5 separate regions of the Homo sapiens genome follow, and regions 1, 2, 3 and 5 are each linked to region 4. The links are contacts of gene promoters, found by promoter capture Hi-C in blood cells and fetal thymus (Javierre and others, 2016). All regions are on one chromosome and are shown on one strand. The core of a region is centred on a gene start or on the middle of the fragment in contact, and the rest is flanking DNA. Distances in the headings are between cores, read along the strand shown. Region 1 holds the start of MCF2L2 (MCF.2 cell line derived transforming sequence-like 2). Region 2 holds the start of MAGEF1 (MAGE family member F1). Region 3 holds the start of KLHL6 (kelch like family member 6). Region 4 holds the start of ABCF3 (ATP binding cassette subfamily F member 3). Region 5 holds the start of VPS8 (VPS8 subunit of CORVET complex).

What was found. The method cuts DNA at HindIII sites, captures the fragments that hold promoters and counts their contacts. A CHiCAGO score of 5 or more calls a contact.
Region 1: the fragment with the promoter of MCF2L2 here is called in contact with the fragment with the promoter of ABCF3 in region 4 in 12 of 17 cell types (activated CD4 T cells, fetal thymus, total B cells and 9 more); the score reaches 13.4 in activated CD4 T cells.
Region 2: a contact is called between the fragment with the promoter of MAGEF1 here and the fragment with the promoter of ABCF3 in region 4, in 1 of 17 cell types (non-activated CD4 T cells). The highest score is 5.8, in non-activated CD4 T cells.
Region 3: the fragment with the promoter of KLHL6 here is called in contact with the fragment with the promoter of ABCF3 in region 4 in 8 of 17 cell types (fetal thymus, erythroblasts, total CD8 T cells and 5 more); the score reaches 10.9 in fetal thymus.
Region 5: the fragment with the promoter of VPS8 here is called in contact with the fragment with the promoter of ABCF3 in region 4 in 12 of 17 cell types (total B cells, non-activated CD4 T cells, activated CD4 T cells and 9 more); the score reaches 18.4 in total B cells.

The regions. Positions count from the first base shown.
Region 1 is chr3:183,425,119-183,430,777 of GRCh38, forward strand. It overlaps MCF2L2 (MCF.2 cell line derived transforming sequence-like 2), which reads right to left and starts at 3,501. Exons shown (of 30, transcript NM_015078.4): 1 at 2,784-3,501. The coding sequence starts at 2,859. RefSeq lists a silencer at 3,251-3,330. The HindIII fragment of the contact is 2,747 bases long and covers 2,772-5,518 here.
Region 2 is chr3:184,708,932-184,715,109 of GRCh38, forward strand. It overlaps MAGEF1 (MAGE family member F1), which reads right to left and starts at 3,133. Exons shown (of 1, transcript NM_022149.5): 1 at 1,433-3,133. The coding sequence starts at 2,890. The coding sequence ends at 1,967. LOC107986163 (a long non-coding RNA gene) reads left to right here and starts at 3,312. Exons shown (of 5, transcript NR_160768.1): 1 at 3,312-3,487; 2 at 6,100-6,178. RefSeq lists an enhancer at 2,333-2,392. The HindIII fragment of the contact is 12,590 bases long and covers 1-6,178 here.
Region 3 is chr3:183,551,114-183,557,336 of GRCh38, forward strand. KLHL6 (kelch like family member 6) reads right to left here and starts at 4,593. Exons shown (of 7, transcript NM_130446.4): 1 at 4,248-4,593. The coding sequence starts at 4,540. KLHL6-AS1 (KLHL6 antisense RNA 1) reads left to right here. Exons shown (of 2, transcript NR_046687.1): 2 at 940-1,213. RefSeq lists a silencer at 1,453-1,622. The HindIII fragment of the contact is 8,561 bases long and covers 499-6,223 here.
Region 4 is chr3:184,182,799-184,188,656 of GRCh38, forward strand. It overlaps ABCF3 (ATP binding cassette subfamily F member 3), which reads left to right and starts at 3,401. Exons shown (of 21, transcript NM_018358.3): 1 at 3,401-3,482; 2 at 3,709-3,856; 3 at 3,998-4,077; 4 at 4,599-4,645; 5 at 4,866-4,963; 6 at 5,063-5,185; 7 at 5,343-5,609. The coding sequence starts at 3,410. AP2M1 (adaptor related protein complex 2 subunit mu 1) reads left to right here. Exons shown (of 12, transcript NM_004068.4): 11 at 1-70; 12 at 684-1,293. The coding sequence ends at 818. RefSeq lists enhancers at 386-900, 2,194-2,908, 3,386-3,705. The HindIII fragment of the contact is 6,180 bases long and covers 1,769-5,858 here.
Region 5 is chr3:184,810,736-184,816,779 of GRCh38, forward strand. VPS8 (VPS8 subunit of CORVET complex) reads left to right here and starts at 1,431. Exons shown (of 48, transcript NM_001009921.3): 1 at 1,431-1,490. RefSeq lists enhancers at 1,249-1,298, 1,359-1,558 and silencers at 3,592-3,681, 3,692-3,741. The HindIII fragment of the contact is 6,000 bases long and covers 851-6,044 here.

The sequences.
Region 1 (5,659 bases), core at 2,251-4,750, 760 kb before region 4:
GGAAATGAAGTCCTGAAGTAGGATTGAGGCAGGCAGCAGTGGGGATGGACATGAGGAAAGAAAGCTGCGAGGTGTTTCTGAAACTGAATCAACAGCAGCCAAGACACTTATGGAAATATGGGAGTGGGTGAAGAGAGATGACTCAATTACCAAGTCTAAGGGACATGGAAAGAGCAGAAACCCCTGCTGGAGGAGAAAGTGACTCAGGGTCAGAGGAGGCCGAGTGAATACGGAAGACAGTGTGGCTACCCTGGCAAGTGGCTAGGATAGGACCCGGAGAATGTTCCAACCCAAAGCCTTGCTCCAAGCACCTCTCAAACCTTCCCCAACTCATGATCACCTCCTCAGAAGCTACTTGATAAGGAAATACCTGAAAAGAACAGGCAAGCATAGAGCCAATCTACCCTTGAGAAGCTCCACTGGCTACCCAAAGTGACCCTCCGTGAAGGCTGAGGCTGTTGCAGGGTTAGAGAAACGCCCGCTCCACCTTGAGGTCCCCCAGTAGGGGATATGAAGAGCTACCTTCCTGCCCTGAGCCTGCCACTCACTCCCCCTGAAACCTTAAAAGATGATCCTCTCTCACTTTGGGAGGCCAAGGCCAAGGCAGACGGATCACCCGAGGTCAGGAGTTCAAGACCAATCTGACCAACATGGAGAAACCCGTCTCTACTAAAAATACAAAAAAAATTAGCCGGGCGTGGTGGCACATGCCTGTAATCCCAGCTACTCGGGAGGCTGAGGTAGGAGAATCGCTTGAACCCGGGAGGCGGAGGTTGCAGTGAGTCGAGATCACACCATTGCACTCCAGCCTGGGCAACAAGAGCGAAACTCCATCTCAAAAAAAAAAACAAAAAAGATGATCCTCTCTGAGTCAATTCCTTCATTTGTAAAATAGGGGTAGTAATGAGTACCCCACCCATTTCACAGGTTTTATTAGATTAAGTATGAGGAGACAGAATCTTGCAAAGCACACAAAAGCCAAGGGTCATTAGAGGTTGAAAGGAGAAACTACAACAAATTCCTATGTGTATCCTGCATGGAGCTGTCTATAGAAGGAGGGAGGGAGCAAGGTAGGCAAGAAAATACCATAGCCTGGGCGCCACAGGCAGCTAAGTGTTAGTCAAGGAATACTGCCTGCCAGATTTTCAAGAAGAGCCTGCTCCAGAGAAATAGGAGGGACCTTTAAAATCATCCAGGTCAACCCCTCGTTTAACAGATGGGAGGCTTCGCCCTGAGAGAGGCCCAGTAACCCACCAAAGATCTTTAGTGGCGTGACAGAGGGACCAGGGATATGTCTAATAACTGAAATGTCTGTATAATCACAGTGTACACAGTATTTCTACCCAAATTATCTTACTTATCTTCACAAGTAGCCTTTGAGCTGAGTGGGAAAGTACTATTAAAATTCCTATTTTTCAACCTGAGGTCGAATGACTTGTCCAGGGAAAGATTCAAATCCAGACGGTCACACCCCGAGTCCACTGCTCTTTCTCTATACCACAACTTCATGCCTGTGCTGGGTTTTAGCACAATCATTTCAACTTTCATCATATTGCAGATTCCGAATTCTGTTTCATTACAAGTTCTTTTTCCTCTTATTTCACACTGCCTTCAGCAATATTTCACATTCAACCTTACCTGGTAGGATCCTACTGATCTTTTGTCGTAAAAGTTCAGTGCCCACAATTGGCACCAGAAACTTTTTTCTAAACTTGAATTATCAAAACTGGGCCTTCCCATATAAATCATCTTTACAAAGTATGTCCTCACAAGTGTATCATTTGAGATGTGCACGATTATTACAGCAAACACGTTGGACTAATTGAGGCAACATTTAACATGCAAGTACCAAGAAAGCAGCTTTCACAAATGTGTAGAAAACCAAGGCAAATAGTTCCTGGCTTTATCAATAAAAGCTGATTTGCATTCATGGGAGGACCTCCAAGCACAGTCAGCAACAGAGAAAATGATCCCGATAATTCCAGTTGCCCACATCCAGAGGTTCTGAACCTGAATGTGTGTCTTTACTGAGGGAGGTCCAGGGAAGGCCAAGGGGAAGAAAGTGCTAAGAAAAAACTGACTGGGAACTGTCTCAATGTCCTCTTGCCCTTACTTAGTCTGTGGGGCCTGACGTTCCATCACAACCCTTATTTCAGGAGCAAGCAATGCATGTTTTGCTCCTCTTTTCAACTCAGGGAAGAAGATTAAAATTGCTCAGTCTCCTTGGCTTGCAGAGATTTCTCGCGGGGATCATCAGGGGTGTGCTTAACCCTCCAGGCAGCACAGTAAAACAGGCCTAGCGGCCGAGCTGCGCAGGGGCGCTCCCATGTAACCTGCCTCTCCCTGCACTTTCTTATAAACAAGCCTTCAGTGGCGTGGCAATCATTTCTGCTGAAAAGCACTGGCATTCGTTCCTCTTATGCCCTCTCCTTTCTCACTATCCCCAAAACCAGAACATAACTTCCCACCCACCCTACTCCCGTCAGAAGCAGCTAACGGATGGTAACAGCCCAGCAGCCCTCGGTTTGGAGCTCAACGGACTCGGCAACCACCTGGTGAAGGCACCAGCCTCGGCCCCCCGACCCCCACCAGCGGCGCGCCCCAGGGATGCCCCCCGCTGGGCACCGCAGGCAGGACCCAGAGCAGCGAGGCCCAGATGCCGGGCAACCCCCCAGGAAGCGCGCTGCCCCGGGGCAGCGGGTGAGGCCAGGAGCCAGATGAAGCCCAGAGACCATCCTCACCCGCCATTAATAAAACGCAGGAAAAATTAAAGCTTCGTTTACCGACATGAGTGATCACTGTGGCCAGTCGCCGGGTGAGCTCCTGGGGAGGCATCTCTTCTTTTAAGCAAGACAGCATTTCACTGAAAAACCATTCCGTATAAATAAAGCCAAACAAAACTGTTTCTACCGCTGCGGTGGATGATTTTTTAAAGGCATCTCCGCCCAAGGATGCTCTGCCCTCGCCCTCTTCCTGGCTCTCCAGGCAAGAAACGAGAGTCCCTCGCAGCCTAGGCCAGCTCTCCCTCGCCACGCCCCGCGGGGGCTCCCGTGACAGACCAAGTCTGGCGCTTTCCCAGCGTCGCAGCTGGACCGAGAGAGGAGCGGCCGTTCTGCAAAAGGAAGCAAGTCGCCAATCTCGCCGGAACCGCGCCCCGGCTCCTCCGGCCGGGCGAGCTCCGGGGCTTCCAGAATCGCGGTCCCGGCCGCCAGGTTTCCGGCGCCGCCTCCAGGGACTGTAGAGTGAGGGATGCTCCGCCAGGTGCAGGGGAGGCGGCAGGTGGCCGTGGCTTCTCTGCGCCGCCGGCCCCACGCCCCAGCGCCCACCTCGTCCAGCCCACGGGTGGCGCCCGGGGCTCTCGGGGAGGCACGCACGCTCCCAAGCGCCGCTCGTTTTGGGGTCGGGAACGCTGCGCACCTTTCCCTGCGGGGAGCCCGCGCTCCACCCCCGGAGTGGAGCTCCGGTCCTTACTCGGAACCGTGGGGCGGGGAGACAGTGACTGAGGCGCTCCAGTCGCACCGGGGTCCGGATCATCAGACGCGCGCCGGCCAGGTCTCCGCCCCTCCTTCTTCCGCGCCGGGTGTCTGCGGAGGAGCCGCGGAGAGAAGGGGGCTGGCCCGGAGAGCTGCCGCCATCCGGCAGGACCCGGAGCGGGAGGCTGGGTGAGGCGCCGCTGCTTGCCCCACCTCCTGACCCCGGGGGCGGCTGGCGTGTGTTTTCCCCCACTTGGGGTTGTTCCACGCAGTTCTTGACCTCCGCTGGCCACACCTGCACTGGGAGCCCGGCGCCCGGGCTGCGCTCCGACAAGGCTGAGCACGCGTGGGCGCGCTCACCCCCTATGTGGGCGTTTTCCTTCGTGCAGCTGCGCCCTTGCCTCTGCTCCGTCTGTCACCTGTCAGGCACGCCAGTGCTACCTTCTGGAGGGGCTGTGGCACATCCTCCATGCTGGTCCTCCTCCCCATCAGCCCATTATCCCGTGGTTTCCCTAGTTGGGCCCAGACACTTTCTGACTGGCAGCAAAAGACTAACCCCAGTTCAGCAGAGCGCTACGGGAAACGCCTGAGCAAATGCGAATTCGGTCAGGTTGTCCCCCAATCCTTTCTACAGCGGGAGTCCCTGAATACTCAGCAGGCGGAATGGCGGGACCACCCAGGCGGATGTTCTCAGCCATCTCTTTCCTCTTCGATATGTAAAAAGCCAAGCCGCAAACACCCTGGATCCAAATTCTAGGAGTAGCCACCCATCACAGGGGGCTGAGGGTATTTTTTTAATGCTTTCTCTTTTCTTCTTTTTTTTGGAGACTGAGTCTGGCTCTGTCGCCCAGGCTGGAGTGCAATGGCGCGATCTCAGCTCACTGCAAGCTCCGCCTCCCGGGTTCACGCCATTCTCCTGCCTCAGCCTCCCGAGTAGCTGGGACTACAGGCGCCCGCCACCACGCCCGGCTAATTTTTTGTATTTTTTAGTAGAGATGGGGTTTGTTTCACCGTGTTAGCCAAGGATGGTCTCGATCTCCTGACCTCGTGATCCGCCCACCTTGGCCTCCCAAAGTGCTGGGATTACAGGCGTGAGCCACCGCGCCCAGCCCTTTTTAATGCTTTCTCTAACAATTGTGGGCTGTGATTGAGAAGCGAGGTCAGTTCACCTGTGTCATGAGATTTGTGGAGAGGTTCTTCCCCCTGTGAAGTTTGGGCACTTTGCACTCTGCCTGCAAAACAGAGCAAGGATTTTCTTTTTCTTTTCTTTCTTTTTTTTTTTTTTCGTTTTTAGAGATGGAGTTTCACCATATTGCCCAGGCTGGTCTCAAACACATGGACTCAAGTGATCATGCCCGGCCACTGAGCAACCATTTTCACAACCACCTTTTGCAAGAGATTCAAAAAAGGGTTAAAAGGCCGGGCGTAGTGGCCCACGCCTGTAATCCCAGCACTTTGGGAGACCAAGGCGAGCGGATCACAAGGTCAGGCATTCAAGACCAGCCTGGCCAACATAGTGAAACCCCATTTTACTAAAAATACAAAAATTAGCTGGGTATGATGTCACGCACCTGTAATCCCAGCTACTCGGGAGGCTGAGGCAGGAGAATTGCTTGAACCTAGGAGGCGGAGGTTGCAGTGAGCCAAGACCGTGCCATTGCACTCCAGCCTGGGCAACAGAATGGGACTCCATCTCAAAAAAAAAAAAAAAAGAAAGGTTAAAGATCCGCAGGAGGGGAGGCAGCTTTTGAATTATGTTTCCGGCGTTCAAGGGTCACAAGAATTTTCAAGGAACCAAATGAGATGTTTCCTACTGATAGTAGTCAGAACCCTGGTGCCCAGTCACAGCCAACTGTGAGTTTTGGTCAGCAGAAACCAACGCCTAGTAAAGAAGACAATGATGTGGGGTATGTTGGACTTGGAGTGTCAGAGCCACTTTGAAGATCCAGTAACCTCAGCTTCCTGGCTTAGGCCGGGTCCTTATGGGTGAGAAACATGAAAAGGAAGAAGAGAAGGAATGGAGGAGAGGAAAAGGAGGGAGGAGAAGCTTATGATTAAGAATGAGAACAAAAAGAAAACAGAAAGGAAATAAATCACACTCAGAGTGCTGCCCACATCTTTGGTACTTTCACAGTCCTCAAAGGTTTCCATGGAGATAAATGAGCTCAAGTTATGGTGAGATGTAG
Region 2 (6,178 bases), core at 1,883-4,382, 530 kb after region 4:
TGCTGGCCAGGCTGGTCTCGAACTCCTGACCTTGTGATCTGCACACCTCAGCCTTCCAAAGTGCTGGGATTACAGGTGTGAGCCACCGCGCCCAGCCAAGTCTTCTCATTTTAATAGTTCTGGTACCCATCAAAGTTGTTAGCACAGAGTGGACACTCAATATTTATGTTTAATGAACCATAAACTACCCAGAAGTTGTATTTTTAACCGTTAGCAACTTTTTTGTCCCTAAGCTGGTAGCTTTTGTCCCAATCTGATTTGTTGGATCCCTACGTCCCAAAGTAGTTTGTATTCCATGCCAACCTTAACATCCTCAGAGATGTTACTTGGACACAACTGGAAGAAAAAATTGATAAGAGAAAAGAAAGCAGCTCTTCTGTTTATGGCAGTTGCAGGGGAAGTTTCACCATCCGCCCACCCTGCCCCCGACCCTCACCCACTCTCTGGTTTGGGAATCACTTCTCTAAATTCCCTATTATTCTAAGTACCCTTTCTACAGGATTTACCCTCACGCAGAAGGTGGTGGGCATTGAAGAAGCCAGAGCTCCTTACAGATGACTCTCCACGGATAACATGAAGGGGAGGGATACCTCACAAGTCTCCTGTAAATGGGAGGTGGCAGGTGGAAAGCAGCAGGCAGAAACATGGAAGGGGGAACTGGGCTTCCTGGTGCCAGAGGAGAAATCTTGAAGTGGAACTTCTTGGTAGTAGTAGATTTAGGTACCCTTCATCCACACTACATAATATTCCAGAGGTGTTACATTATTTGATCTCTGAGGGCTTTGGTAGAGGAGGGAACCCTGTAGAGGTTGAAAAGGAGACAGAAAGGGCCAAAAAGTTGACAGTCAACATCTTTGTGCACTGTTAACAATCTGGTCTGGAAAGACAGCACTGGCAAAGGTAGAGTATTTCCCAGATCTGCCATGTATCAAGTCTGCTCACATTACTGAGGAGTAGCTGTGATCTGAAATCATTATTTTTATTTCTTATTTTTTTCTGAGACGGGGTCTTGCTCTGTCTCCCAAGCTGGAGTGCAGTGGTATGATCTCGGCTCACTGCAACCTCCGTCTCCTAGATTCAAGAGATTCTTGTGCCTTGGCCTCCCAAGTAGCTGGGATTACAGGTGTGTGCCACCACGCCTGGTTAATTTTTGTAATTTTAGTAGAAACAGGGTTTCACCATGTTGGCCAGGCTGGTCTTGAACTCCTGACTCCGGTGATCAGTCCGCCTCGGCCTCCCAAAGTGCTGGGATTACAGCAAACCTCACTCAATCATCCCAGCTGGGTTAAGTATCCCTTTGTAGACTTCAACTCATTGCACTGCTAATTTCTTGTTTATTTACTTACTCTTCAATTCTGAAAAAAAGTAGGACCTTTATCTTGTTTAGTATTCTATCCCCAAGTGCCCACACAGTGCATCACAGAAAACAAGATGCTCCACAAATGTTTAATTTATTAAGTGTGCCAGGGTATACTGCTAACTCATTGCATTTTAATTTTTCTCTAGATACTCAAATAGCTAAGCAAATGAAGGTACATGCCAGTCTTTCTTCTTTTATACACAACAGACAAAAGTGTTGGGGGGCTAGACACCAACCAGCTATTTTTTTCCCCTGGAACCAGATCATCATACTGCTGAGTTCCTTCAAACCATCAAAGTACAGCCTTCCTTCCAATGTTGCATAATCTGTTCAAAATCACAGTATAAATACAAAGTTCTTCCATCCATTTTACAAAACCAGCAAAACTCTACAATAAAATCCTACAGGAAAAAGTAGACCAATCTCATTTACAAACAGCATTTTAACAGTAATTATTAAATGTTACAAAACATAAGATACAAAATCTAAATCCTTAAAGTCACACGATTTCTACAGAAATAAGACCCTCGCCCCACCCATATTACTTATGACTCAGGACAGTAGTTCGTCCTCACGGGGACCCACTGGCCAACTTTTCACCAACCCTCACCAGAGGTGGATGCCGGCCCTAGCACTGGCCCTGGCCCTCATACTGGCTTCAGCTCTGGCCTTGGCTCTGGCCCTGTCGGCCTCGTCTGCTAGGGCCTCACGGTACTGCACTGGCCAGTGCTGCGGTTCCTTCTTATGCAGTTTGGCCACGAACCCCAGGACTTCCATCTTGCTGATTTCCAGGTTGCTTCGGGGACCCCAAGAGAATTCATATTCTGGTGGATTGGTGTGAGGCACCCGCCTGTAACTGAGATATCGCTGCTGCACAAAATCTTCCATAATAAGCCTCTTCGGATACCCAAAGAGGAAATGATACTTTGAGGGTTGCACCCCCAACCGACGCAGCATCTCCCAGACCTGGGCCTCCCTGGCGCTATTACCTCTCATATAGATAAGGCCCAGGATCATCATTAACAGACCCAATCTGGGGCCATCTCCTCCCAGATCCTCCTCCTCCTCCTCCTCCAGAGGTTTTAGTTTGTTGATCAGGATGTAAGTGTGGTGCTTGCGGTCAAACTGTTTCAGCTCAAAACCAAAGACATACCGCAGATGCTCTGCGGCCCTTGCGATGATGTCCGGGAACAGAATCTTCAAGTCTCCAATAACGTATTTCACCATCTCCGAGCGTGTGATGGGACTCTTCTTCTTGTCTTTCACCAGGAGGAACTGCACCAACTCCGCCACCGTCCGATTCAGCCGGCGGTAGGCCCTGCGCCTTGCCAAGGCTTTGGCCGCCAAGGCCCTCGCGCCTTTCCGGGTGAGGGCGGGCTCCGCAGCCCCCTCCTCCCTCCCGGCGCCAAGCTCCTCCTTGGGGCGCTCCTGCGAGGCGGTCGGGGCCCGGGTCTCACCATCATGGCCGCCATCCTTCTCCCCCTCGGCCTGCGGGACCGGGAGCCCCCTGCTCTCTGGTGTCTGCAACATGTTTTCGGGCAGGCAGGTGCAGAGCGCGTACACGGGCCGAGGGGTGTGGGAGCCGCCGCGCAAGCCCCGGGGGAGGGGTTGGACAGCGGCAGTGACGGCGGGAGTACAAGGAGCAATGGCAGCGGGAGCTTTGTGGCTGCTGGGCCGCACCGCACGGGAGTCAAACCTGCGGCCGCAACGCCGCCAGCAGCCGGAACCTGCGGCGCGCAGCCTCAGTCCGCGCCCGCGCGAGGGGCCACTTCCGGCCACCTCAGCCAGGACGGCGACCCTAGTGCCGCGCGCAGCCCCTCCTTTTCCGGTCCCTTCTGGGTTGGGGGTGTGCCCAGGCTGCTATAAGTGGAAATGCCCTGGAGGGTGGGGACGGGGGTGCGCCCTGTGACGGATTTTAGGCTTGAAAAGTCGGGGGCGGGGGAATGTAACCAGGACTCTCCCATCCAAGGCATGCAGACTGGGGAATGTTTCGGTGTACAAGAGATGAAATAGGGATGGAGTGCCCCCCACGTTCTTTCTGCAAGTGCCTATTTGTGAGTGTGTGTATCTGGGATTTTCAGTGCTTTACCGGGGCTCTTGTGCAGAGTGCACGGTGAAGGCTGCGAGGTAAGACTGTGCGAACCAATTAGTAAAGGATGCTAGGGAGACTGAAATTTATTCTGGACGTAAAGAGAAAATACTGCAGCGGGATTTAAGCAAGTGAGTGTCCAGACCAGATCTGTGTCTTCGGTTCTGGCGGTATTGTGGAAGATAGATTGGAGTTCGGCCGGCTAAAAGCTAGAATCCAGTTTGGAGGATTATTATAGTGCAAACTAGGAACTGGGACCCGGCCTATTTACTGGGTTGTATCCTCGGTGCCTAGAGCAGTGCCTGACACGGAGAGGAACTCAATAAATATTCAATGGATCATTATGATGAGGGAGTAAGGACAGCAGATTCCATGGGGATAAGAGGAAAATACTGAGAAGTACAGCAGGAATAGGGACTGGTTGGAAGAAAGGGGAAGTTTGTTCTTTTTTTTTTTTTTTTTTGCGCAAGTCAAATTTGACTACTCCCATGTATTTCTTTTCTTTTTCTCTTTTTACACACTCTGAGCTTTCTTCTGCTTCTTGCTCCTTCCTTCCTTCTTTCCTTCCCTCCTTCCTTCCTTCCTCCCTCCCTTCCCTCCTTCCCTTCCTGCCTTCCTTCCTTCCTTCTTTCCTTCCTTCCTTCCTTCCTTCTTTCCTTCCTTCCTTCCTTCCTTCTTCCCTCCCTCCCTCCCTTCCTTCCCTGTCAGAAATGCCCTCTCTATCACCTCCATTTCTCCAAATCCTGTCCACTATTCAGGGCCCAGTTTAAACATCACCTTCCCAAGCCTTCCTTAGTCACCACGCATAGAAGTTATTTACTGTCATCTCTGAATCACCTTAGCAATTGTTAACATCCACATATATAGGCTTTATTAGGTGCCAGGCTCCGTTCTAATCACTTTTCAAATATTAATTCATCAGATTCTCACTAATGTAGGTACTAATACCATCATCCCCATTTTATAGATGATTGTATCTTTTCTGTGACACAGTTTGCTACTTACTAGCTATGTAATCTTGGGCAAGTTACCTAAACTTCTGCCCTTCTGTTACCTTATCAGTAAAATGAGTATAATAGTAGTAACAGCATTGTGGAGATTATGTGAAGTAATGCACATAAGCATTTAACACAGTGCTTGGCACATATTGATATTCAATACATGTTAGCTGTTAATTAATGCATATTTTTATATGCAATATACAATATTAGAATTGCAAGATGAACTGTCCTGGAATGCCTAGCACTCTGTGGAGATGCGGAGGAGGTGTCCTGGGACATAGCACTGAACCGGGTCAGTACTCACCCATTCTGTGACCTTGTACAGGATGCTCAAACACCCTGGGCCACTTTTTTCTGATACTGTAGCCCTGCTAGGTAAGTGGTATTAGCCCCATTTTCCAGGTGAGGTTACACACAAGGAGGTTAAGTAACTTGCCCAACATCACACAGCTGGGATGTGAACCCATATAGTATGACTCCAGAGACTGTGCTCTTAACCACTACATTCATAGATGTTAATTATTATTATTATCATTTACTATATTTTGTATTATAATTTGTTGTGCTTATCTTATTACCCTCCCCAAACCAAACATCCTAAAAGCTAGGGCTATGTTTTTAACTCTTTTGAAGAGCTTCTCTTAGTCAATACTCGATATATAATTGCCAATGAATAAATGACAGAAGGCTTTACTTTTTTCCCTAGGAAATAACAGTTACTTATTTTAAGTAAATATCTGATAGACTTTTCTAAATCTAAATATGAAATCTTCCTTTTAAAAACTTTTGAAAATTTATACCCACTTGTATCATATGACTTACAAACCTGGAAGTATGTGAATGAAGCAGGAGAGGATGTTTATTATAGCCTAGCTTGAGGCTATTATTAGTTTTCATTGTGCCAAACATTCTATGTACAATATAATTTTGTCCTCACAAATCCCTATTAAGAAGGTATTATTATCCACATTTACAAATGGGAAAACAGTCACAGAGAGGTTAAATCACCTGCCCTGAACCACCCATCTGTTAAGTGCTAGACAAGAAATGAAAACCCAGATCTGTAAACTCTGAAGCAAGACTGCCTGGTTATCTGTTTTTCCTGAAGGTAGAGAGAGCCACCCATACCTAAAAGGACAGTGCTAGAGATAAAATAGTCCACTTACATATTTTCCTCACTACAAGGATTGCCAGGGAGATATGCAGGAGATACATGCACGGAAAGGAGCATGCAGAAGATATATTAAATGAAAAGAATTTTGAGGGACAAATCTGTGGTAATAGGGCTGGATTTTAAGAACTGAATAAATGACGATACTACTCATAAGAAGGAACAAACTACTGACACAATGTGAATGAGTCTGGCAGATATGTTGAGTGACAGATGAAAGATACAAAAGATTATACGTATAATATGATTCCATTTATCTGATGTTCGAGGCAGGATAAGCTAATCTATGGTGATAGAAATTAGGACAGTGGAGGCCTGGGGTGGTGTTGACTGGAAAGGGGTATCCAGGAACTTTCAGTGGTGATGGCAACGTTCTGTGTCTTGATTTGGATGTAGGTATACATTTGTCAAAACTTGTGAAACTGTACGCTTAATAGCTATGCATTTCTTTTCTTTTCTTTTCTTTTCTTTGCGACAGGGTCTCACTCTGTTACCCAGGCTGGAGTGGTGCAATGGCACAATCTCAGCTCACTGCAACCCCTGCCACTGCAACCCTT
Region 3 (6,223 bases), core at 3,343-5,842, 630 kb before region 4:
CTGTCTCAGAAAAAAAAAAAAAAAAAAATTACTTCCCATGCACTCTTTCTTAGGAAGTTATTGGAGAATGTGCTTATCAGGGTAAGATGGTAAACCAGGGAAGAGAAAGATAGGGGTTGAAGGGAGAAGGCTCCATTCAACATAGCAGACAGTCCCGGGGAATGATGGAGAAGCAGGTGAATCCCAGCCAGCGTGCAAATCCAGGGAACATGTGTAACATGATGCAAGGCAGGAGGATTCTGAGGAAATGGAACTGGTAGATTGTTTGATGCATTGGACCATATGAAAGATTTTTGTGAGCCTGTGAGCAAAAGACACCCCAAAACAAAGCAAATGAAAAAATGAGTGAATTAATAACTTCAGGAAAGACAAAAGGTTTACAAGAAAAGAAACGTGATCATTGAGTAATTTGGCTCAACAGAGAACAAGGTTTTCGTGAACATAATAATGTAAACTCTTGTTGTGATAACATTATGTTGAAAGATTACAGGGAAGGAAAGCTTATGGTAAGAGGTTAGGTAAGGATACTAAATCCTTATTTGAAATCAGTGAATGATGTCTAACACTGAAAAATCAAGAAAGAGCAGTATAAGTGTATTTTGCAGAAATATAGAGCTAGTGCCAGAAGAAACAAATAGAAGTTGAAAGTGGTAGCCTTTGGCGCATGAGACAGGGTGGAGGAGGAAATAGGAATTTTTGTTTTTTCATTATAAGCCTTTAAATACTATTTAACGCTTTGTTTACTATTTGCATATCTTTAATAAAAAATAAAATTTAATTTTAAAAAAATACATGAAAAACAGAAAGGCAGTGAAGAGACAGTTCAACAAAAAAAGAACTGCAGATGCCCCTTAAACATACGAAGAGATGTTTGATCTTACTAAAAATAAGAAAAATGCAAATTAAAGCTAAATTGAGATATTCTTTCTCATTTATCAGATTGGTAAAACTTCAGCGGTTGGATGACACCCTCTTTTGGTGATGCCGTGGGGGAACGCAACATGATTCAACCCCAATGAAAGAGAAGTTGCAATAACCGCTAAGACTGCAGATGCATTTGACTCAGCAAACCCCCTTCAAGAAATGCATATGAAAAAAACTCATGTTTCAGGTTATTCATTACAACATTGTTTGTAATAGCAAAATGTGGATTAGAAATAGTCCAGATGTCTGTCCGTAGGGGACTGTTTAATAAACTATTGTCAGTCCCTTAGTGGAAAGTAATTATTTTCTCAGTGAATAAAGGAAAAAAATGACATAATTTTATAACCAGCTTCCAGGCCCTCCAAAACACAGAGAGCTGTGTTGAAAGCCTCACAGACTGGTCGGGCGCGGTGGCTCACGCCTGTAATCCCAGCACTTTGGGAGGCCGAGGCGGGTGGATCTCGAGGTCAGGAGATGGAGACCATCCTGGCTAACACAGTGAAACCCCGTCTCTACTAAAAATACAAAAAATTAGCCGGGCGTGGTGGCAGGTGCCTGTAGTCCCAGCTACTCAGGGGGCTGAGGCAGGAGAATGGCCTGAACCCTGGAGGCGGAGTTTGCAGTGAGCAGAGATTGTGCCACTGCACTCCAGCCTGGGCGACAGAGCGAGACTCCGTCTCAAAAAAAAAAAAAAAAAAAAAAAAAGAAAGCCTCTCAGACAGAGAGACTCTTTGACCTCCCTAAACCTGAGCATACGAAGAACCCCTTTCAAAACCTCAGACACAAAGCGAGAGAGTGTGTCAGATTTAACGTCAGTCCTAGGTCTAAATCCCAGCTTGGCTACTTTTTATTTGCTGTGACACTCTGGACTTTGGCTCACCGTCGGTAGGCTGGGGATAGGACTCCCTGCCTTGTCAGGTTGTTGTGAGGGTGGAGTGGACTAGAGTATGTGATACAGAAGCTACAGGGCCTGGCCCACAGTAAGCGCTCCACAAACAGGAGTTGATAGGAATAGTAGCACCGGAAGAAAGAATCCTGTCTCCAGGACAGTATTCATTGTAGAAGGAAAGTCACGTTGAAAATCCCAAGAGAAGAAGCAAAAGTCACTTCTCTGAAGAGAAGAATTGAAGGAATTTCCTCTCATGACCAGGCAGTTTTGGGAGAGGCTCTGTATACACAGTCAGATGCCTTCACCCTCATGTTCTCCAGCTTCTCATTGCCGTTGCCTCCTCTGACGACCGGCAGAGACTTTCCCTAAGTATCCTGGATCAGCAGGGCTGGAAGGACCCAAGCCCAAATTCCCATTTAGGATGAGAAACCCAAGAACCAGAGAAGACCAGTGATCAACTCGAGGGCACACAGCCAGCGGGCCTGGTCCACAGCCAGGCCAACCCGCTAACAAAACTGCTTCCAGGTATGCATTTTATGATAGCAAGGGATACAAAAGGATCAACCTAAATGTGCGTCCCCAGGGCATTGAGCTAACTTGACTTCACTCACTCCTGAGAGGGGCTGCAGTCAACGTGAAAGCACGTGATCAAGGTTGGTGGAGAAAGTAATGTGTTTATATCAACCCATTTTGATGGCTGTGTTTACACTTTATATTTTACACACTTCCCATGGAATGAAGTCCCAGACCTAGTGGCAGCTTGCATTGCAGTAACAAGGATTTCCAGAACATACCCAGTCCCTGCTCCAGCAATGACCAGATATATAATGCTGAGTTTTCATTTCCTCATCTGTGAAATATCAGCCACCTTCATCATGCTGTTACAAAAATAAAATCAGATAACTATGTCTGTCTGGCACACAGCAGCCACTGCTTCCCTCAAACCCAGATATCCCCTTGTCTTATCAACACAGGAGACCTAATGAGTCCCACAGCAACCTGCTGATCCTGCTCTATGAATTACAAAGAAACGTTTCCCCCCAAGCACCTCAAAAAAAAAAAAAAGAAAGAAAGAAAACGCTTTCCATAATACTTTCATAGGTTAATCGTTTTCAATTTCCTCAGCCAGAATCAAGAGTTAAGAAGAATCTCATTAAGAAGAATTCTAAGGGTATTTCTTTTCAAGTTCCCAAATACTTTCTTCATTATCCACATTGCCCTTGCAGGCTGGTTCCCCCATGTCCATGCTGATATGGAGAACACTGGATCAGGTGTATTCACTGGGTTCCCAGCGCTATAAAATTCCTACCCCAGGGACGTGCTCATGGGAAACACTCAATAAGTCATCCTTAGCTGAATCAAGCAGAATCAGAAAAAGAATTCCAAGAAAGATATATTGAGCATCTACTTACTATATGCTAGACACTGTGTAGGACCCTTTTCACGCTCTTGTTTAATTATGACAGCCCTGAAAGGTGATCATCATTGTGCTCACCTTACAGATGATGAAACAGACATTCAGAGCACTTTGTGACTTGCCTAAAGTTTCACTGTCAAGAAGGAACCAAGTCTCCTGACTTCAGGCCTTCCCACTATGAGATCACCAGTTTATCGTAACTAGAGGCCTCTCCCATCTAAAGCATCTTTGTAACTGCTTTCCCTTTCCCCACACTGCCTACACATAAAGAAGCCCCTAATTTGTAACAAGTCATTTGACAACTCCAGAAGAGGGGCCACATCCTTTTTCTCTATGTCTGTTGATTAACAAAGACAACATTATGTTTCCAACACCAGTCAGACCAAGGGGGAAAAAAGTCCCCATGACTTCAGTAATTTTCCATCCTTTGGAACAAGGAAATATACACAAAAGGTTTACTATAGAATGTAAGCATTGCTTTTAAATGATGCCAATCTCTCTTTTAATGTGGCCTAAATCCTAAAATTTAAAGTGTGATAAGCCGGGCGCAGCGTCTCACACCTGTAATGCCAGCACTTTGGGAGGCGGAGGCGGGTGGATCACCTGAGGTCGGGAGTTCAAGACCAACCTGACCAACATGGAGAAACCCCATCTCTATTGAAAATACAAAATTATCCGGGTGTTGTGGTGCATGCCTGCAAATCCCAGCTACTCGGGAGGCTGAGGCAGGAGAATCGCTTGAACCCAGGAGGCAGAGGTTGCGGTGAACCGAGATTGCGCCATTGCACTCCAGCCTGGGCAACAAAAGCAAAACTCCGTCTCAAAAATAAATAAATAAATAAATAATAAAATAAAGTGTGATAGTGTCCTTTCTTATATTTTAAGTAGACACACAAGCCTTAATATATATGTAAACCATAAATATCATGGCCAACTGTTCAAGATTGGGCTCTCACACTAACACACCTCTTCCTTGCAACTTGCACCCAATTTGACTCTGGTCCTAGGCATGCTGACCTGAAATAGTTGCTGGCTGCGGCAAGCACCACGCGGTGGCAGGAGAATTCCTGAATGTCCACACACAAGATGACATCTGTCAGAGCGTTTTCCATTCGCAGGGTTTCCAGGCCATTCTGAAGAATTAAGGAGAGTCCCGCGTCGTCAAATTTGACCTTTTCCCCATTTAAGATCTCGACCAAGTCTCCTGTTTTCTGGGAGGGCTCATCTGTAGAAGGTGCCAGGGGCCCTTCCAAACTCTTCTCGACCACATCACCCATGGTCCAGGCGCCCCTTTGTCCTGCCATCAACATCGAGACTGAAGGAGCGCCCAAGTGTCAGGCAGGCCCCATTGCAGGAGCTGAGCGGATTTCCTGTGCAGGGCCCTCCACTTATCACCAGCTGTCACACACACATAACAGGAAGTCTCGCACTTTCTCATCCTGTTACTACAAATGCCAGCAACTTCTATTCTTCTTCTTTCTGTGAGTAATCACAGGGTTAGAAATTACTTAGAATAGGTGTGTGGGAGGGGGTTCTGGAAGAGGAGTGTCCTCTCAGAGTCCACTGTGAGTGCTGTGTGTTTATTTTGGTGCATCTCCCACCTCATATCCGTGAGCAGGAAGCCTCCGGTGGTGGCTGTTACATTTGTACTCCTAATGCTATCAATAACCCAAGTCGTCAATGAGGGGATGGACAGGAGACAGTCTATAATCCTCCTGCTTCACATTTGTACTCCTAGTGGCTCAATAACCCAAGTCGTCAGCGAGGGGATGGACAGGAGACAGTCTATGATCCTCCCACTTCCTCCTCCCAGGAGTCTGAGACCCCACAATGATCCAACAACCGTGCTTTGTAAACCATGGAAACCCCACTTATCCCTGACATTCTCATTTCTGGCGGCACTGCAGATCGTCTATCTTCATCCTCCTCCCTACCCAGGGGAAAACAACGTCATGGCAAACTTTCATGTCTTCCCCCACCAAAAAAAATGTCTATTGTTTCGAATATGCTTTGGGGGCACAGAAGAAATGGTTTCCAAAACTCCATCAACAGCATCTTCTCAGAGGATGAGTCAGGGTGGGTCTACACCGAATTGCCATAGCACGTCTCAGATTAGCCCAACATCTACTGACCGTGCATCTAACGGTGGATCCTGAAGTATTTTCATTACCTCTGCATGTCTCAGTTAAGTAGTAATAACTGTCATTATTAAAATCCCATGATATCCTGGGGAAGTTATAGGAGCGTATCAGTTAGCGTTCTCTCACGCCCAACAGTAATGCTTTACCAGGTTGCTAGGTATTTCTTAGCCCAGCAAACTTGACATCTAAAATTAACCATTACAATTACAGTCATACCCAGCATAATGATATTTCAGTCGATGATGGACTCCAGAGAGACAGAACCAAAAGGATACCTAGAGAGGCATAGCAGAGGGAAATTATTAGGGGAATTGGCTCACGTGATTATGGAGACTGAGAAGTCGCATGACAGACTGCTGAGAGCTCAGTTCAAGTCCAAAGGCCTCAGAACCAGAGAAGATGGTATAACTCTCAGTCCAAAGCCAAAGGCCTGAGAATCCAGGGGGTGGGGAGACTGGTGTAAGTCCTGAAGTCCAAAGGCAGGGGATCCTGGAGTCCTGTTGTTCAAGGCAGGAGATGACTGTATCCCAGCCTCAGGAGATAGAGACATCGACCTTTCTTCTGTTTTTGTTTTCTCTGGGCCCCTGGCTGATTGGATGGTGCCCACCCACACTGAGAGTGTATCTTCTCTACCGAGTCCACTCAGACTCACTAATCTCTCCTGGAAACAACCTCACAGACACGCCCCATGGTAATGCTTTAACAGGTTGCTAGGTATTTCTTAGCCCAGTAAACTTGACATCTAAAATTAACGGTCACAAGTACAGTCATGCCCAGCACAATGACATTTCAATCGATGATGGACTGAATATACAATTGTGGTCCCAAAAGATTATAATGGAGCATATAAAG
Region 4 (5,858 bases), core at 2,151-4,650:
AGAGATTGAGCTTCTGCCTACCAACGACAAGAAGAAATGGGCTCGACCCCCCATTTCCATGAACTTTGAGGTATGGCAGAGGAGGGGCCTAGAGTCATGCCAGGGTATGCTGGAAGACCTCTTAGAGATCATTCCGATAAACTGCTGCACCTTAGAGGTGAGGAAACTGAGGCCTAGAAAGAAGAACTGGCTTTAATTCATAGATCCATTCTTCCCCTTTCAAGCCTCTTAGTAGAAATTACTATTTGTGATGAGGCAAATCTTTTACTTCTCTCGGCTTGTCCTAACACAGTTCTTTCAAAAAACTTAGATTGTTTAAATGCCAGGTAAGACACAAAGTTTACTTACAGACAGGATAATGGGCTGACTTTGCTTTGCGCATGTTAGACATAATTTTCTCCACCTTATTTTTAAGTTCATAATATTGAGCAGGATAAGTATGTTCTAAAGCAGTTCTTTGGTTGCTGTCTCCTGCTGATTAAAGGAACTGATTCAAGGTGTCACAGGTAGGGCTTTCTTCTTTAGTCACCTCTTAGAAGGTCCCACGCCGCCCCAGCTTCTTTCAGGACCCCAGCCATACAAACACCTGTAGTAGCGATGAAGTAGGGCAGGGCAACGGGACTTCCCAGAGGAGAGCGGCTGTAAGAGGAAGGCCACATTTCTAACTAGCTCTCCTTGCCCAGGTGCCATTCGCGCCCTCTGGCCTCAAGGTGCGCTACTTGAAGGTGTTTGAACCGAAGCTGAACTACAGCGACCATGATGTCATCAAATGGGTGCGCTACATTGGCCGCAGTGGCATTTATGAAACTCGCTGCTAGCTGCCACTAGGCAGCTAGCCCACCTCCCCAGCCACCCTCCTCCACAGGTCCAGGTGCCGCTCCCTCCCCCACCACACATCAGTGTCTCCTCCCTCCTGCTTTGCTGCCTTCCCTTTGCACCAGCCCGAGTCTAGGTCTGGGCCAAGCACATTACAAGTGGGACCGGTGGAGCAGCCCCTGGGCTCCCTGGGCAGGGGAGTTCTGAGGCTCCTGCTCTCCCATCCACCTGTCTGTCCTGGCCTAATGCCAGGCTCTGAGTTCTGTGACCAAAGCCAGGTGGGTTCCCTTTCCTTCCCACCCCTGTGGCCACAGCTCTGGAGTGGGAGGGTTGGTTGCCCCTCACCTCAGAGCTCCCCCAAAGGCCAGTAATGGATCCCCGGCCTCAGTCCCTACTCTGCTTTGGGATAGTGTGAGCTTCATTTTGTACACGTGTGACTTCGTCCAGTTACAAACCCAATAAACTCTGTAGAGTGGAGTTGCTGGCTTAGTGTTGATGTGGGAGCTACATGGGGAGGGAACTGGTGTTGCTCTCCGTGCAGTTTTCTGTACTGAATACTCTAAAGGCTCTTTCCTTGTCTTGTCCCAGTTAGGCCCCTCCTGGGCCATCCAAGCCCTTATCCTTGTGGGTTCTGGGCCCAGGTTTCCTGGCTCCTCTTAGAAAGCCTCAAGGGCATGCAGCCGCAGCGGGCCCCAGTACCCTGGGGATAGATTCTTTCCCTAGCTCCTTTTTATTCCCCCTGGTCCTCGGACTCCTAGGCTCAAGAGATCTTACCTGCCCCAGCCTCTGGAGTAGCTGGGATCACAAGCACGCACCACCACAGCACCCAGCTCTTTCTCTAATTCTTAGGCAGATGTTTTCTAATTAGATTAAGCATAAATTAAGTGTGAAGTTTACATTTGGTCTTGTAGCCATCCTAAGAAATTGACCTTTTAATTCCATCATTTACCCAAGCTTCCCAAATCTTGCTGACTGGGTGGTAGGAGGAAAGATTTGCAAGGAGAATAACATAATGGACTGGGCGCGGTGGCTCACACTGTAATCCCAGCACTCTGGGAGGCCGAGACGGGTGGATCACCCGAGGTCCGGAATTCGAGACCAGCCTGACCAACATGGGGAAACCTCGTCTCTACTAAAATTACAAAATTAGCCGGGCGTGGTGGTGCATGCCGGTAATCCCAGCTATTCGGGGGCTGAGGCAGGAGAATCGCTCGAACCCAGGAGGTGGAGGCTGCGGTGAGCCAAGATCACGCCACTGTACTCCAGCCTGGGCAACAAGAGCGAAACTCCTTCTCAAATTAAAAAAAAAAAAAAAAAGAATATAATGAATCTCCATGTCTCATCACCCAGCTTCAACTATGATCAATGCGTGGCCAGTTCCTTAATATCACATCCAGTTTGTGTTCACTTAACCAGGTGTCTTATCAAATTTTTCCAGATAAGGTCCATTGTGGTTGGTTAATGCTCCTCAAATTTTAAAAATTGATGTTTCCCTTCAGGTCTTGCAATTTTGTGGAAGAAACCAGAGTTCTGTAGTTTACCACATCAGAATTTGCCTGTTGTCCCCATGAAGTCACTTAACATATTCCTCTTTACCTGTATTTCCTGTAAAATGGTTCAATATCGGGATTGATGCCTCATGATGGCAATGTTTAATCCAAAGGGATGAATGGGTAATAATGTAATTTTCGGTGCCACTTTTAGAGACCAATTGGAGGAATATTCACGTTAAATATAAAGCAGTAGCATCATTTTGGAGGAAATTCCTAACTTCCCGAGGGAATCGGTGAAAGGAAATAGCCTTTTATTGGCATTTATTGAGTGCAGAGAAGTCTGCTCAGGGTGTAGGTAGGGAATAATTTATACAGGCCACGTTGTCCTGGTTTTCTTGCCCTTTGGCGGTGGATTTGGTCGTGCCCTGGGGTGGTGGAAGAACTGAATGGGCTTAATTCACAAAGGTCGGCTGAATTACACAGTGAAAAGGCGGTCGCGGCGGGGAGGCGGGTGGCGCTGGCCACCAGGCTGAGAAGCCCGTAGGGTCTGGGGACCCGCGAAAGCAAAGCACTGAGCAGGGGGCTTCTGAGAGTCAGGGACCGGGGTGAGTCAGCAAAGCTCTGGGCAGGCTCCAAAATGGGCCTGACTGGGTACGCACCAGCAGCAGACGCGCCTCGAGGGAGCGCATAAAACCTGGCAAAGCCAAAGTGCTTTATCAGCCGCCTGCCTCTTGGGAGGCTCCCACCCGCCAGACCACGGGTGCCTCGCGGCCCCGATAAACCTTGAGCTCCCAGCCTTTGCCCCACCCCTCGCTCCCGGAACTCCACCTCCCAGAAGGCAGCGAGAACCGCACATGTGGCTAATCTTTCAGCGGAAAAGGTGTCGCGCACGCGCAGAGAGCGCGGCTCCGGCGCAGACTCGGCGCCTCTCCTCAAGGCCCCGCTCGCCCCGCCCACCGGGCTCTGCGCACTCCGCTCCTTTCCTGCGTCACCGCTACACATGCGCCTTGCAAGGAAGGGCGAGATTTCGGGGGCAGGGCGGGGGGCGGGCCTAGGCCGGGGTCTCACAGCGACTGCGCGGACGGGTTCCTGAGTGGAACATGGCGACTTGCGCCGAAATCCTGCGGAGCGAGTTCCCCGAAATTGACGGACAAGTCTTCGACTACGTGACCGGTAAGCAGAACTGAATCGGCCGGCTGGGGAGACCGAAGTGGAGGCCGGGGGAAAGTCTAAGCGAGCGTCGTGCCCGGGACTGTTGCCAGGCCTCTCCTCTGCATGACCTCTTGTCCCGGGGGCTGGTTGGGTCTGGAGCCTGGACTGGGGCCTCTGTCTGGGGTCTGAAACTGCTTGTGTGTCCACCCTACCCGATACCTTCCTCGTTCTACCACGCCCTGCCCAGGCGTCTTGCACAGCGGCAGCGCGGACTTCGAGTCTGTGGATGACCTGGTGGAAGCTGTAGGGGAACTATTGCAAGAGGTGTCCGGGGACAGCAAGGATGACGCGGGCATCAGGGCCGTGTGCCAGCGCATGTACAACACTCTGCGTCTGTATGTGCCAGGGAGTAGGGGTTGATGGGGGCGAAGGGACGGCGAACGGTCCGGAGACAAGAGGTGGGGGAGGAAGATCTGATGGCCATAGAGCTTTTCCCTCAACTCCTAACTCTGCGCTTTCTATCCCTACCCACATAGGGCTGAGCCACAAAGCCAGGGAAATAGCCAGGTGCTACTGGACGCCCCTATCCAGTTGTCAAAGATAACGGAGAACTACGGTGAGAGTGAGGGGAGGTTGAACTAACTGCCCCCCTGTGCTTTTCTCCGCCCCCAACCATCTGCTGCCTGCAGCTTAGGGCTCCTACGTCTTTTCCACAGGACAAGGTTGTAGGAGCTAGTTGATGTCTTTACCGAGGGCAGAAGAGCCCATGATGGGGGTGGGGAGGAGGTTGGAGGGTTCTCCCTCCAAGCTCTTGGGTAGGATAGGAAGCATAAGAGCCTGGAGCTGGACAGACTTGCTTTCACCCCCAGTTTTGCAACTTGCTAACCAGCTGCATGATCTTGTAAGAGTTGGTTATCTGTCCCCAGCCTTGTCTATGCCTCTGTATCCTTCTACGTGAGTTTTGTTTTGTTTTGTTTTGTTTTGTTTTTAGTGCAGGGAAGATAATAGCCATCTATCTGCAGTATTATAAGGTTTTGTAGAAAACATCTGTGTCTGTGCCTGGTTCCTATTAGTCACTCAAAATGTTAGTTTCCCTTCCCTCAGGGAGAAGGTGACTGCTTTTCTTATCGCTTACAGACTGTGGAACCAAACTTCCAGGACTGCTAAAGAGGGAACAGTCCTCGGTGAGGAGGAGGAAGCAAGGGAGGGGACTGTCTGTGATGGGGTTGGGAGTTGACTGTCTAATTGGAGTATCTTTTGGGGGGATTTCTGACTATGTCTTTTCCTGAGCCTTTGAGTCTGTTCATCATGGGTAAGTTAAGAGGGTTTACTCGAGATGTTCTCTCTTGGGGTTCCTTTCTGAGCCTACACCCGAGAGTGAAGTCGATGTGTTTGGACCCTTAGACAGTGAATGCAAAGAAGTTAGAGAAGGCCGAGGCTCGACTTAAGGCAAAGCAGGAGAAGCGCTCAGAGAAGGACACGCTCAAGACCAGCAACCCTCTGTGAGTGGGGGAAGCATGGCTCAGAAGAGAGCAGAGCAGCTTTTGCCTGGACAGAAGGTGGTGGGGAGCACTAAGAGCTGTCCATTTCTCCCTTTAAAGAGTCTTAGAAGAGGCATCAGCCAGCCAGGCAGGCAGCAGAAAGGAGAGTCGGTTGGAATCATCTGGCAAGAACAAATCCTATGATGTGCGAATTGAGAACTTTGATGTGTCTTTTGGCGATAGGTGAGGGAATAGTGGTGGCAGGGGTTGGCTTTCTTTTTCTAATTAGAGGACAATTTGGAGAGGTGAAACGGGGCTATAAACAATGTTAGGTTTGTCATTAAACTTGCTGTGCACCTATTTCTAGAGCATCTTTGGTCTCCTTTCTCCACTCCTGCAGAGTACTGCTGGCTGGAGCGGATGTGAACCTGGCATGGGGCCGCCGTTACGGGCTGGTGGGGCGGAATGGGTTGGGGAAGACAACGTTACTGAAGATGCTGGCCACCCGGAGTCTGCGGGTTCCAGCCCACATTTCCCTGCTGCACGTTGAGCAAGAGGTTGCTGGAGATGACACTCCTGCCCTGCAGAGTGTGCTGGAGAGTGACAGTGTGCGAGAGGATTTGCTACGGAGGGAGCGGGAGCTCACTGCCCAGATTGCTGCTGGCAGGTGAGGACTCCCGGCTAGGGAGTAACTAGCAGCCGCTGTCGCTTACAGAGCGCCTGCCGTCCTGGAACAATCCATAATTTGCATGTACATCCTAGTAATCAGCAGAGCTTAGAACTTGGCACTCTGGGACTCAGAAGCCCTTGTTCTTTCCACAGTGCCCATTGCCCTTTCTTGTTCTTTCCACAGTGCCCATTTCCATAGTGCCCAAGGTAATGAGCACTGTGCAAACCCTTCCTGTATTCTCTTCCT
Region 5 (6,044 bases), core at 181-2,680, 630 kb after region 4:
ATCTTTTTTTTTTTTTGAGACGGAGTCTCACTCTGTTACCCAGGCTGGAGTGCAATGGCACAATCTTGGCTCACTGCTGCAACCTCTGCCTCCTGGGTTCAAGCAATTCTCCTGCCTCAGCCTCCCGAGTAGCTGGGACCACAGGTGCATGCCACCACACCTGGCTAATTTTTGTATTTTTAGTAGAGACAGGGTTTCTCCATGTTGGTCAGGCTGGTCTTGAACTCCTGACCACCTGCCTCAGCCTCCCAAAGTGCTGGGATTGCAGGCATGAGTCACCGCACCTGGCCTGAAATGTATTTCTTACTGTGAGGGATGATTAAAAGAAGGTTGAAAGCCACTGGCCACACCACGGCTACATCAGGCCAATAACTAGTTCCCAAACTTGCTTTGTACTGCCTTTGATCCCACCCTTCCCTCAGCTAGGCATTCTCCCTGCTCTCTGCTACTGAAATCCTTCAAGGCCCTGACAAGATACCACATCCTTCCTTGAGTGTTTCACCCTTTCCCCCTGTCTGTGCGAAAATGGTGGTTCAATGTCTTTCTTTATATTACTCAAAACAGCCTGCCTTGTATTTTGTTATGTCTGTACACTGAATTCTTAGAAAATAAATACCTGGAGGACAGGGCAACACCTTCGGGTCTTCTGAAGGCCCAGAAGTCTAGTGAACCTAGCTGATGCTCAAAAATGTCTGCCCAACCGAATATTTTCTGTATCTCCTTCCAAGAGTATCTTCTGGTGTTCTTCCTCCTGTTTTCTTGACCTATATAGCCCCCAGCAGGCCTAAAATCTGTGTCCTGGGGCTAATGTTACGTACAGTGATGACTCTAGAAACCAGTCTGTTCTGAAAGCTTTCACCTTTCTTCAGGAGCGATAAGAGAAATAAGCATACGTTTTTGTTCATTTTTCAGATGTTTCCTTTATTTGAGACTATGTTTCTCCTGTATTTTTGGTGTTAAGATGTATTTTGGGGAGCAACACTGATGATATATTACAAGATAATAGTTGGTATTTTAGTATGTGTGTGCCTATTGTACTTATTTGACACAATAAATAGGCAATTCTGAGTTCATCTTTTAAAAAAAAAAAAAAGTTAAAAAAAATTTACTGGTTGCAAACTCCAAAAGGCAGGGAATCAACTTCCCTTCTGGGCTGGCTGCAAGTAAGTTCACTTTCTTAAAGGAGGAGCTTTCTCCTCTCACCTCAAGGACTGTTATTTATTTGTCTGCGCTACTCTTTCGACGTTTCCATTCTCTTGGTCCTCAAGATGTGAATCACCCATTTTTTCCGTAGGGGGGAAGACGGCGTATCTCTGGCCCTTTAAATAGGGGCGTGGTGAAGAGGCGCGGACCGCCCAGGAGGGGGAGCAGTGCGAGGAGGAAAGCGGAAGCGCTGCCCGCAGTGGTAGGTAGTGCGCGTGCGTGAGGCTAGAGCAGTGGGTGCGGTCACGTGGGCCGGCGGTCCACGGCCGGAATGGCAGCAAGCTCAGGTAACGAGTTTCCAGAGAGCGGGCCCGTGGAAGGAGACAGGATTGAGGGGCCGTATTCAGGGTAGGAGGAGAGCGCGCGACAGGTCTCTGAGCCTCGGCGTCTCCTCCCCGCGCGACAGCGGCGGGACCTCGGGGAGCGAACAGAGCAGCCCCTGACGGGCTAACCGGACCCGAGCCACGGGCCGGGCGGGGTTGATTCTCGAGTGGAGGGGCGTGTCGTACGTTGGCCCGGAACTGGGTCGGGCAATTTCCACTTACTGGTTCCAAATGAATGTGAAAATTCAAATGGGCTTAAGTAAAAAGGGATTTATTGGCTCCAAACCTGGAAGGGGCTGAGGTATCACTAAATCCAGTGACTCCGGTGATGTATTTGTGTATCTCTCCCTTTCTGCAAAGGGCCAGTAACCCCTCAGTTCCCTATCTACTTTGCGACTATAATTGCAAGCCTCATTCTGTCCTGTTACAGTCGTGCGGCAATTAGGCTGAGGGACTGGCGCGCCCGCTCCCCCGACTGTGAGCCTAGGCGGCGGGTGTCATGCCCCTCCCCACTCCCGGGCGGAACAGGTGTGTAGCCGGTCTGTCGGGCCTGGGAAACAGGTGTGGACCCCTTTAGCCTCCAGGGACTGATATCAAGGTGCCTGAGCCTGAGGCTTAGATGGGGTGTCCACCTCTTAGGATCGGTGCGCACCCTGTGAGGCTGGTTCCAGTTTGTCTCCGCGTGCAAGTTGTGCACCAGAGTGAGGGCAGCAGGGTGAAAGGTGGGCCTCTGAAGTTCGAGGCTACTCCTGTGCCTTGGCCAGTTCTTTGTGCTTGGCATCTGGGGAAGGAGGGAAACAGCTGCTCAGAGTGTCTGGGTGTACAAAATGGGGGTGCTTTACAGGAGGATAGGGTGGGAGGAGGTAGGATCGGTGAGAGGTTCCATGGCCGTGGGTTATCAGGAATAGCTAGCTGGGGAGCCTTCTTTAAATAAGCAGGCCCCCTCCACTTCTTAGATTCTTGTTAGAATGAATAGGAAGGCTTCTGGCCTCTGCACCATCCACCCTCTACCATACTCTACTTTCCCCTACTGAAAAACCCCAAAACCCAAGCAAAACAAGCATGGATGTTAGCTTGTGGTGCTAAACCTTACTCCAAATGTCTGCATTTGGGAGACAATTACATGTTAATTGTCTGTGTATGTCTATGTCTGCCTGTGTGGGTTTGAGGTATATCTAATATAAATGTGGATGGAGAATCTGCATATGTTTGTGTAAGACGTGGGTTTGCTCATGGTTAAATTTAAGCACAGAATAGGTATTGAATCCTCTGGCAATAGCTGGCCTGTTCCATAGAATATGCAATAAAGATAAATGGAAAAAAAATTCGTTGAACTACTGGGCTTTATATGGTCAAAGAGGCATTTGTGAGAAAATTCTTTCCAGAGCTCTAACAGAGTAATATGTTGATTTTTTCTTTATATTTAATATATTTGCTTCGTATCTGGACCATTGTCAGCAGATGGATGTTTTCTGTCTTCCAGAATATTGGGACATGTTGGTGATTCTTAGCTGTATCTCACTATTCCATTGACATTTCAACCAGTGTGACACAAAATGTCAGTTATGTATGTGAATGAGAAGTAAGATCTTTTGAATTTAATGAAGTATGTTTAACTTTGGATCTATTGATAGCTTTCATAGAGTTTAGATCGTATGTTCTCTTGATCCACAGCTGTAGGTGTCATCGGTACATAGTGGTAAGATCAAACTGTTGTATTCTTAACTGAATCTTGAATGAATATTTGACTTATCTTCACGCTGTATGACATTATTAAATGTGTTCTGTGTTTTAGCAAGGAAATATAGCTTTGCGTTGGATTTTTCACTGTTATGAATTTCTTAGGTTTACTGTAATAGCAATTATACTTTTTTAGTCAAAGATATTTCTGTTGCAAGTGACAGAAAATTCAAATGGGCTTAAGCTAAAAGGGATTTATTGGCTCCAAACCTGGAAGGGGCTGGGGTATCACTATATCACTAAATCCAGTGACTCCAGTGATGGAGTACTTGTGTCTCTCTCCCTTTCTGCAAAGGACCAGTAACCCCCAGTTCCCTATCTCCTCTGCAACTGTAATTGCAAGCCTCATTCTTCCTGTTACAGTCATGGGACAGTTAGGGGATATGTTCTGAGAAATGTGTGGTTAGGCAAATTTTGTCATTGTGCATGCATCATAGTGTACTTACACAAACCTAGATGGTGTAGTCTGCTACACACCTAGACTATGTGGGATGGCCTGTTGCTGCTAGGCTATAAACCAGCACAGCATGTTACTGTACTGAATACTGTAGGTGGTTGTAACACAATGGCCAAGTATTTGTATATCTAAACATAGAAAAGGTACAGTAAAAATACAGTTTAAAAGATTGAAAAATGTGAACCTGTGTGGGGCACTTACCATGGATGGAGTTTGCAGGACTGGAAGTTGCTGTGGGTGAGGCAGTGAGTAGTGAGTGAGTGTGAAGGCCTAGGACATTATTGTACACTACTGTAGACTTTTTGAACACTGTACACTTAGGCTACACTGAATTTATTAAAAATTTTTTCTTTCTCCAATAATAAATTAACCTTAGCTTACTGTAATGTAACTTTTATGTTATAAACTTTTTAATTTAAAAAAGTTTTTAACTTCTTTGTGATAAAACTTAGCTTAAAATACAAACACATTGTACAATTAGCTGTACAAAAATATTTTCTTTATATCCTTATTCTGTTAGCTTTTTTCTATTTCAAAAAATTTTAATCTTTAAAAACGAAGACGCAAACACACACATTACTCTAGGCCTACACAGAGTCAGGAAGGTCCCGGTGGAATGTCTTTAGAGGCAGTAACACATAGGGAACTGTCATCTCTTATGATAACAGTGCCTTCTGGAATACCTCCTGAAGGACCTGCCTGAAACTGTTTTACAGCTAATTTTTAAATTTTTAAATAAGTGGATGAGTACACTCTAAAGATAAAAAGTATAGGATAGCAAATACATAAACTGGCACATAGTTTATTATCAAGTATTATGTACTGCACATAATTGTATGTGCTTAGCTTTTATACTACTGGCAGTGCGGTAGGTCTGTTTACATCAGCATCACCACAGACAGATGAGTAATGCATTCATTACAACAGCTGTGACATCACTGGGCTACAGGCATTTTTCTGCTCCATTATGTGTAATGTTAGGGGACCATGGTTGTATATGTGGTCTGTCGTTGACCCAAAACGTCTTTTTGGGGCACATGACTGTATATAAATGCATAAAAGATGTGACTGCAGATGACTCCTGTGTTATGCCATCCAAGATTAAGCACCCTAGAATAAAGAGAAATTCCAGAAGTACCTTGATTGGCCACATAGGACCCAAGAATGTGATGTGCCTACTCTTCTGCTCCGCTAGCTAGGCAGATAGGGTACTTGATTGGCAGCACCACCAAAATCACATGGTTGGAATGGAGGAGAAGCAGTTGCCCTCCAGGAAAGGTGGCAGTGGTGCTGGGGTGTTTTAACCTTTGTTTTTTCCGTTGCAGTTCAGCAAGACGCTTCCAGTTACTTCCTGCTCTTAAAAAAAAAAAAAAAAAAAGAATAAATCTCTCATGACTCTATATCCTTCTTGACACCTAACCAAGAGAAATTGAGATGACAGTTAATTGCAAATTAATAAAGAAGGCCATCATCTACTCAGCCTTTACCTAAGTGGAATCCTGTCTTTTGCGCATTTAACTTACAAGAATTTACCTGCATCAGTCAGTTATGTGAAGAAGAAAAGGGAATATATTTCAGCGTACACAAGGCCCTTGTGCTTTTTAGGAGGAGTTCTTTGGAGCTGAAGTGGGTCTGAGAAGAGACATTCTCATGATAGTGGAGACAGTATTATAGAAGCTGGAAGTGATCATTTTTCTCTGTTATTTATTTCACTTATTACCTCACACACATATTGATATAAAACTGATCAATAAAGTTAGAATTTCTACATTATCTAGATATTTGTAGACTTCGTTCATATTATTGTTTTGTATATTGTGATAGGGGATTAGATTTTTCTTTTCTAGGCTGGAGCTGATTGTCTGACAATTCATAGCAGTAACTTAGCACTCACTGTATACAGGAAGGTCTTAGGCACTGTTCCTTCCCCTTACTTTTCTTTTTAACATTTTTTAATCTGTATGTACTTATGATCACTCTCCTCATTTAGACATTCACCAACAACAGAAAGAGAAACAGAGGGTTGGGCTTTTTCGTCGTGGCAGTTCTGGCACTGTGAGCTACAATTACCTAAATGTGCCTTCTTGGAAAGAAATTCCAGGGTCAAGTAAAGCAGCCCATCCCAGTATATAGTAATGTTTCTCTAAATAGGGTCTGTATCTAAATGAATAAGGTGAAAATTGAGTACCCTCAAAGTACCCCAAGAGGGAGTCATATCAGAGACTGACAAGCGGTGGGTCTCTCAGGAAGCCCCATACGGCCAGATCTTGTTTTTCCATGTTGGAACTGCATGGCGTTTGTTATTTTGAGCACAGGTGACG